Regions from separate parts of the Homo sapiens genome. Here region 1 is linked to region 2. Evidence: promoter capture Hi-C in 16 types of primary human blood cells and fetal thymus (Javierre and others, 2016). All regions are on one chromosome and are shown on one strand. The core of a region is centred on a gene start or on the middle of the fragment in contact, and the rest is flanking DNA. Distances in the headings are between cores, read along the strand shown. Region 1 holds the start of UPK1A (uroplakin 1A). Region 2 holds the start of ATP4A (ATPase H+/K+ transporting subunit alpha).

The links. Contacts are between HindIII fragments. The CHiCAGO score rates a contact against its expected background, and 5 or more counts as called.
Region 1: a contact is called between the fragment with the promoter of UPK1A here and the fragment with the promoter of ATP4A in region 2, in 3 of 17 cell types (erythroblasts, megakaryocytes and M1 macrophages). The highest score is 6.0, in erythroblasts.

The regions. Positions count from the first base shown.
Region 1 is chr19:35,663,467-35,667,854 of GRCh38, reverse strand. UPK1A (uroplakin 1A) reads right to left here and starts at 1,338. Exons shown (of 8, transcript NM_007000.4): 1 at 1,317-1,338; 2 at 959-1,046. The coding sequence starts at 1,042. The HindIII fragment of the contact is 14,723 bases long and covers 1-4,388 here.
Region 2 is chr19:35,562,377-35,566,472 of GRCh38, reverse strand. ATP4A (ATPase H+/K+ transporting subunit alpha) reads left to right here and starts at 2,815. Exons shown (of 22, transcript NM_000704.3): 1 at 2,815-2,855; 2 at 2,946-3,089; 3 at 3,205-3,264; 4 at 3,835-4,038. The coding sequence starts at 2,844. RefSeq lists an enhancer at 1,159-1,660. The HindIII fragment of the contact is 9,853 bases long and covers 1-4,096 here.

The DNA of each region.
Region 1 (4,388 bases), core at 89-2,588, 100 kb before region 2:
TCACACCACTGCACTGCAGCCTGGTCAACAGAGTGAGACCCTGTCTCTAAAACAAACACACGGCCAGTCGCGGTGGCTTACACCTGTAATCCCAACACTTTGGGAGGCTGAGGTGGGCAGATCACCTCAGGTCAGGAGTTCAAGACCAGCCTGGCCAACATGGTGAAACCCCATCTCTTCTAAAAATACAAAAAGTAGCCGGGTGTGGTAGCATGTGCCTGTAATCCCAGCTGCTCGGGAAGCTGAGGCAGGAGAATTGCTGGAGCCCAGGAGGTGGAGGATGCAGTGAGCCGAGATCTCGCCACTGCACTTCAGCCTGGGTGACAAAGGGAGAATCTGTCTGAAAAAAAAAAAATTAGCCGGGCGTGGTGGTGTGCGCCTGTAATCCCAGCTATTCTGGAGGCTGAGGCAGGAGAATCACTTGAGCCCGGGAGTTAGAGGTTGCAGTTAGCTGAGATCAGCCACTGCACTCCAGCCTGGGCAACAGAGTGAGACTCCGTCTCAAAAACAAAACAAAACAAAACAAAACAAAACAAAACAAAACAAAAAACACAAAACCAAAACCCAATGTTAATTGAAAGACACTGTTGTTTTTCCTTCTTGTGGCCTCCTGTGCACCAGGCTGTCACTTTATATCCATAGTGATGCTGATGGTGATAGCCAGCATTGGTCGGGCACTTTCTCTGAGCTGAGGGCCACACATGGATTAATCCACATGACAACAGCCCACACAATGAGGACACAGTCTATAGATGAGGAAAGAAGGCACAGAGAGGGACAGTCGCTTGCTAAGGTCACAGAGCTGGGGAGAGGCAGAGCTGGGATTTCAACCCAGGCTGTGCTGACCACTGAGTCTGCCCGAGAGACAGTTCTGGACCCTCATCCCCCACCCCGAGCTCAGGACTGTCCCCTCCCCACCACACAACCACTCGGCTCCCAGCACTGGGGCGAGTCTCACCAGAATAATGATATTGCCCACAACTAGCAGGCCCACCACAACTGGAGATCCCTTCTCGGCCTCCGCTGCTGCCGCAGACGCCATCATCCTGGGACACATGAGCAGGGATGAGGCCAGGAGCGTAAAGGGCCAGCCGGACCCCCCATCTCTGAGCCACACCCTGGCTTCGAGGGGTTGCTCCAGCTCTCTGCGGGGCCCAGGCTGGTACTGATGTACCCACAGCCCTGGTGGGGAGGCATTTTGCACAAGAGGACACCCGGGCTCCGGTGGGGCAGTCACTGGCCTGAACTTGGCACTGCCCCTCCCTGAGCCTCAGACCCCTCATGCCATACCCAGACTCCCAGGGCCCCCTCCTCACCTTCTCTGTCTGCAGCCTCTCTGGCCAGCCCCACCCACCGTGGCTCCCTATATACGCCCAGGCCCCTCCTTGGGCTAGTCTCCCAGGAAGGAGGGAGGGTGTGTGTGTGTGTGTGTGTGTTTTGGGGCACGGCAGTGGGGTGGACAAGAGGCTGAGCCGGCAGACCAGGCTGGATGAACAGCTTTGATGGGCTCCCTGCCACCCCCATGATTTATAGACCTGAAATACCAGATTGTGTAGGACCCATGGCCTCTGGGTCCCAGGCTTTGTTGGCGGTGGAGGAGTTGGAGGTGGAGGGGCGTGCGCACCACCTGGTGTCTCTCTTGCTAGGACATGGGCCTTCCTGGGAATAGGAGCAAGATCCAAATCAGGGCGGGGCGTGGTAGCTCAGGCCTGTAATCCCAGCACTTTGGGAAACTGAGGTAGGCGGATCGCTTGAGCTCAGTAGTTTGAGACCAGACTGGGTGACATAGTGAAACCCCGTTTCTATAAAAAATACAAAAATAATTAGCCAGGCTCATGCCTGTGGTCCCAGCTACTTGGGAGGCTGAGGTGGGAGGATGGCTGAACCTGGGGACAGAGGTTGCAGTGAGCCAAGATCGTGCCATTGCACTCCAGCTTGAGTGACAGAGCCAGGCCCTGTCTCCAAAACCAAACAAACAAAAAATCCACTTCGGACCCACAGGTGGGTCCTGAATCCCAGAAGTGTCTCTCCTGCTGTGTGACCTTGCACAGGTGGCTGCTCCTCTGTGAGGCCGGGAGCCCGTGGGGAGGCCCAGGCAGGGACCCCTGCCAAGGCCAGGGCTGGACCGAGGCAGAGCAGTGGGGAGATGAGGGGACAGGTGGAAGGGGCGCTTAGGAGGCTGACTACATGGGCGGTGGGCTGAGGGAAAGGATGGCACCCAGGATAGGTGTGTGAGGGGAGTCTGAGATAAGTGCAAAGATGGGGGAGAAGAACGTGCTAGAAAATGAGAGGGGGCACACCGGGCTTGGTTGAAGAAAAGTCCCCGTCGCCCCCCAACACACGCATGGACCAGACATTTATTTCTTCAGGTGCAGAATGAGAAACCTAGGTTCAAATCCCGGTTCTGCCTCTTCTGGGCGGCACGACTTGGCTTGTGGATTTGCCCATCTGCGAAATGGGTATCATCAGACCGCTTCCCTGGCGGAGGTGGGGACTGAGCCAGCGCGTGTCCCCAGGGGCCGCCGATGCTGCCCACGAGGCCACGGTCTCTCCGATGCCACGCCCTCGCAGCGCAGGGCTGGCTCCATGCAAAAATGGTGGCCCAGGGCCCCCGACACCGTCCCCAGAACTTCTCAACCCCAAGGCTAGGCCGTGTATTGCCTCTGCTGTGGGAGCAGTGGCTCCCCACTGCGGTGCCTGCGAATTTGGCAAATGACACTGAAAATCCCATCGTCAAGGCACTGGTTTGGTAATAAGATACATGAGATGTTTTCCGATTAAAATGGTTAATTTGGTTTTAGTCAACCCACTTTAGATTTTAAAATAGTTTTTTTGGCCAGTCGTGGTGGCTCACGCCTGTAATCCCAGCACTTTGGGAGGCCAGGGTGGGGGGATCACCTGAGGTCAGGCTGACTAACATGGTGAAACCCTATCTCTACTAAAAATACAAAATTAGCCAGTCGTGGTGGCAAGTGCCTGTAATCCCAGCTACTCAGGAGGCTGAGGCAGGAGCTAATCGCTTGAACCTCGAAGGCAGAGGTTGCAGTGAGCTGAGGTCGTGCCATTGCTCTCCAGCCTGGGTGACAGAGTGAGACTCTGTCTCCACAACAACAACAAAAATCTGTAAAGTGTTTATTCAAGAAAAGCAGCTGAATCTTAGTAAGAGCAGTGAACTTTATGACTTTTTTAAAATTTATTTTTATTTTTGTTTTCTTGAGACAGAGTCTCACTGTCGCCCAGGCTGGAATGCAGTGGCACGATCTCAGTTCACTGCAACCTCTGCCTCCCAGGTTCAAGCAATTCTCCTGCCTCAGCCTCCCGAGTAGCTAGGATTACAGGCGCCCGCCACCACGCCCGGCTAATTTTTATACTTTGTGACATTTTTAATTGGCCTAGTTCCATTCCCCCATTCCAGCTCCATGGTAGCCTTGAATATTAACTGCCAGCATTCTCAGTGGAAACTAGCAGCCTGGCATACACCAAACGGGGCAGAAGAGGATGAAACTCCATAAAAGCCTCACTCCCAGAAAGTCAGAATTATTTGATTCGTCTTATGGTTCCCTGGAAGCCCCTACTTGCAATGTTGTCTGTATTTGACCTAACTTAGAGCTCATACATCGTCAAAATTATTTCCCCAGGGGCATTTGTGAAACACAATTGCATGCAATTGTTTAACTAGGCAGCTGCCTAAGCAATGAATAACAGTTGAGGCCAATAATAGGCTAATGAAACAGTTTAAAAGATAAAGCTGGGGAATGAGAAGGCTTTGAAAAACTCCAAAATATTCTTGGAAATCTAGAAGGTCACATGCATGCATAGGGTTGTGTGCATGCCCAGGAGTATATGCAGGCTCAAGAAAGACCAGAGATGAGAACCCAGTCTTCTTACATTGGGCTGACCTTGAGGATGTGTGCCTTCCTGGGAGAAGTAGTGGCGAAGGCAGAGTTGTCAATTGCCTGGCTGAATGTCGAAAGCATGGCCCACCATGCCTCAGCAAAGGCTAGGAGATTATTGGTTTTTGGAGGCTAAGGAAATCTTTGTCCAATCATTAGCGGAACTAATGCTAAAGAATACTGTCTTTTTTTTTGAGATGGAGTGTTGGCCAGGCTAGTCTTGAACTCCTGACCTCAAGTGAACCTCCCACTTTGGCCTCCCAAAGTGCTGGGATTACAGGTGTGAGCCACCATGCCTGGCCTAAAAGCAGAAATTATTTTAAAAGAACTAAACAGAAACTTGGGACTTGAAAAGTACAGTAACTAAAATGAAAAAATTCAAATGGGCCAGGCGTGGTGGCTCATGCCTGTAATCCCAGCACTTTGGGAGGCCGAGGTGGACAGATCACGAGGTCAGGAGATCGAGGCCATCCTGGCTAACATGGTGAAACCCTG
Region 2 (4,096 bases), core at 1,566-4,065:
CAAATGATTCAGCCAAAAATTTAAAAAATTCTGGCCAGGCATGGTGGCTCACACCTGTAATCCCAGCACTTTGGGAGGCCAAGGCGGGTGGATCACTTGAGACCAGGAGTTCTAGACCATCCTGGCCAACATGGTGAAACCCCGTCTCTACTAAAAATACAGAAATTAGCTGGGCATGGTGGCGGGTGCCTGTAATCCCAGCTGCTTGGGAGGCTGAGGCACAAGAATTGCTTGAATCCAGGAGACAGAGGTTGCAGTGAGCCGAGATCATGACACTGCACTACAGCCTGGGCGACAGAGAAAGACTCTGTCTCAAAAAGAAAAAAAAAAAAAATCTATCAATCATCTATCATTTATGTATCCATCTATCTGTCTAACATCTCTTATCTATCTATTTTTCTATTTTTTTTTTTTTTTTTTTTTGAGACAGAGTCTCACTCTGTCACCCAGGCTGGAGTGCAGTGGCATGATCTCGGCTCACTGCAACTTTCACCTCCCAGGTTCAAGTGATTCTCCTGCCTCGGCCTCCCTGGTAGCTGGGATTACAGGCACACACCACCACATCCAGCTAATTTTTGTATTTTTAGTAGAGACAGGGTTTCACCATGTTGACCAGGCTGGTCTCGAACTCCTGACCTCATGATCCGTCCACCTCAGCCTTCCAGAGTGCTGGGATTACAGATGTGAGTCACAGTGTCCGGCCCAGTCCTCCTTCTAATGAACACCAAACAAATAAAAAGAAAACACAGTGTCAGGTTGGAGTAGGAGGTGTAAATACAGTGGGGTAAAGGAACAGAACACAGTGTGCAGTATTACAGAATGGACTCTCTGAAGAGGTGACATTTGAGCTGAGACCTGAAAGAGGTGAGAAAGCCAGTGCAGACATCTAAGGAAGGGGGCCCAGGCAGAAGGAACTGTAAGTACCAAGGTCCTGAAGCAGGAACGACCTTGGTCTGTGCAAAGTGCAGCAGAGAGGTCAGTGCCCCTGGAAACCTAGCAGCAACAGAGGCAGGACAGGTGACCAGGGCCAGATGTTGCAGGAAGGAGTGCAGAGTTTATTCTGAGTGGGAAGGGAAGGCTTTGGAGGGTTGTAAGCAGGGGGTGACACAAGCTGTTTGACATACATGGCTCAGAGCTGATGGGAGCCCAGTGAGCGAGTAGATTCACTACAAGGACAGCATGTGGCCCCACGCCACCTCTTCTTTGGAGGTTTCTTCTAGCAGGCTGGGGATGACCAGCCGTGTGGGTGCGGGGAGGAGCTCTGGCTGCCCAACAGCTTTGAGTTTCCCAGGTGACCTGCCCCAGTAGAGAAGGACATTGCCAGGGCAGTTATCTTATCAGGCGCACGCTCACCTGCTCCTGGAGACACGCTCACCCCATAACATACCAAGGTCCCCACCATTCCACTGGCCCAGCCCCTCGCTGCTGCTGCCCATGGAGGTCCCTACCTGAGGGATGAGGAGGGAGTCCCCAGGCCTCCTGGCATCTGTCACCCAACACCAAGATCAAGCCAAGACCCTTGGACACATCCTTTCCCCATGTTGCACCTTGGTTTCCCCATCTAGGGTAGGGACGGGGAATGGTTGAGAGCTGTAAAGTCTGTAGCTGGATATGTGAGTCCCTGTGAGCCTCAGTTTCCCCCTCTGCACAACAGGAATGATAGTTCTGCCTGCACAGGGTTTTTTGCAAAGACCCGTGAGGTCACACGTGCAGAGCCTGGCATGTGTGTGGTGCTGCTGCAGTGAAGTTTGGGTTTTTCCATTGGTGGTGCCATAGAAGAGCTAGGCTCTGGGGTCAAGCCCTGGGGTCAAGCCCGGGCTGGAACCCTGTCCCTAATTCTTAGACGTTGAAATCTTCTGCAAAGTCCCTGATGGGGGCTAAGAAGAGAATATTGCTTTACAGGGCTGCTGTTAGATGCTAAGGAAACCATTTGAGTGACACACAGAGCACACCCAGCCCATAGTGAATAGTCAGAGTTCAGTAAACATTCAGCCACCATAGAGAGTGTTGTAAGCATGGCAGGGCATGGTGGCTCACGCCTGTAATCCCAGCACTTTGGGAGGCCAAGGCGGGTGGATCACCTGAGGTCAGGAGTTCGAGACCAGCCTGGCCAACCTGGTGAAACCCCGTCTCTACTAAAAGTACAAAAATTAGCTGGGTGTGGTGGCATGTGCCTGTAGTCCCAGCTACTCAAGAGGCTGAGGCAGGAGAATCACTTGAACCCGGGAGGCGGAGGTTGCAGCGAGCTGAGATTGCACCACTGCACTCCAACCTGGGTGTCAGAGTGACACTCCATCTCAAAAAAAAAAAGAAAAAAAAAAAGAGTGTGGGAGCACCCTCCTCTTCCAGTTGATCAGGCACGTGCTATTTAGACTGAAAGAGGACACTCTGCAGCCAGCTGATCTGGTTCTCACTCCATTATGTCCTAGCCTGTGATGGAGCCATAGGAGAATGACTCAACCCCTCCATGCCTCAGTTTCCCCATCTGTAAAGGGTCTTGTCCCCTCAAAGGGTTATTGGAAGGTTAAATAAGTTAGCACATGGAAGCCGTCAGCACAATGCCCAGCGCATAATGAGCACCTTATGTTTGCTCTTCTTGTTGCTGCAGCGGTTCCCAGGGGCTCCCTGATCTCAGGGCAGGTTGACATGGGGGGATCTGGGCAGGGGAGGGGGGGGCCAGCCCAGGAGGGAATGCCTGAGGTGCCCAGGCCTAGAGGTCACCCCAAGGAGCCTGTAATCAGCTGTGGTCGGGCGGTTCTGCTCCACCCCACCGCCCTCCCTGGGTATATCAGGACTGGTCCGGGCCCAGGCTCTGTTGGGTGGGAGCACAGGCACCGGGCACCATGGGGAAGGCCGTGAGTGGGGCCCAGGGGTCCGGGGTGCAGTGGGGACAGGGGTTGCAGTGGAATCTGAGTTCTCCCTCCCTCCATCCTGTCCATTCCCAGGAGAACTATGAGCTCTACTCGGTGGAGCTGGGTCCTGGCCCTGGCGGGGACATGGCTGCCAAGATGAGCAAGAAGAAGAAGGCGGGTGGCGGGGGTGGCAAGAGGAAGGAGAAGCTGGAGAACATGAAGAAGGAGATGGAGATTGTGAGCTCTGACTGGGGAGGGGCGGGAGCTGGAGGGTAGGCTGGGAACCAGGCAGTGGGCGGGGAGGGGGCCAGGAGAGCCCAGAGCAAGCACCCTGCCCCACCCCACCACACAGAACGACCACCAGCTGTCAGTGGCGGAGCTGGAACAGAAATACCAGACCAGTGCCACCAAGGTGAGCTGGAGACTGGGAGCGTACAGAAAGGGGAGGAGGAGAGAGGGAGGGAGAGGGAGATGGAAGGAGGGAGATGGAGAGAGGGAGAGAGAGGGAGAGATGAAGAGAGGAAGATATGGAGAAATAGAGAGAGGGAGGGAGGCAGAAAAGGAAAGAGGGAGGGAGGGAGAGAGGAAAGGATGGAGGGAGGGGAGGAGAGAGGGAGGGAGATGGAGAGAGGGAGAGAGAGGGAGAGGGAGAGAAGGGAGAAAGCATTAGAGAGAAAGGGTGACACACAGAGACGGAGAGAGGAGTAGCTGAAAAGAGACAGCAAGACAGAGAAGGCAGAGACAAATAAGGAGAGAGCAGCAGGAGAGAGACACATAGAAAGGGGAGCGAGGAGAGAGAGACAAAGGGAGAGATGAAGGAGGGAGGGAGAGATGGGGTGGGGGCAGGAACCAAGAGACAAAGAGATGAGAAGGAGCAGGACAGACCAAGCTGGAGAAGGGAAACTGAAGCAGGGGGCTTTCCACGGGGTGTGCATGTGGAGGAAAGCCCCCAGGACCGCCTCGCCCTGCCCCTCTGTCCCAGGGCCTCTCTGCGAGCCTGGCTGCTGAGCTGCTGCTGCGGGATGGGCCCAACGCACTGCGGCCACCACGGGGCACCCCAGAGTACGTCAAGTTCGCGAGGCAGCTGGCCGGGGGCCTGCAGTGCCTCATGTGGGTTGCCGCCGCCATCTGCCTCATCGCCTTTGCCATCCAGGCTAGTGAGGGGGACCTCACCACCGACGACAATGTGAGCCATGTTGTGGGGACAGGCTCAGGACATGGGGACCTGGGGATGGAAGACACTG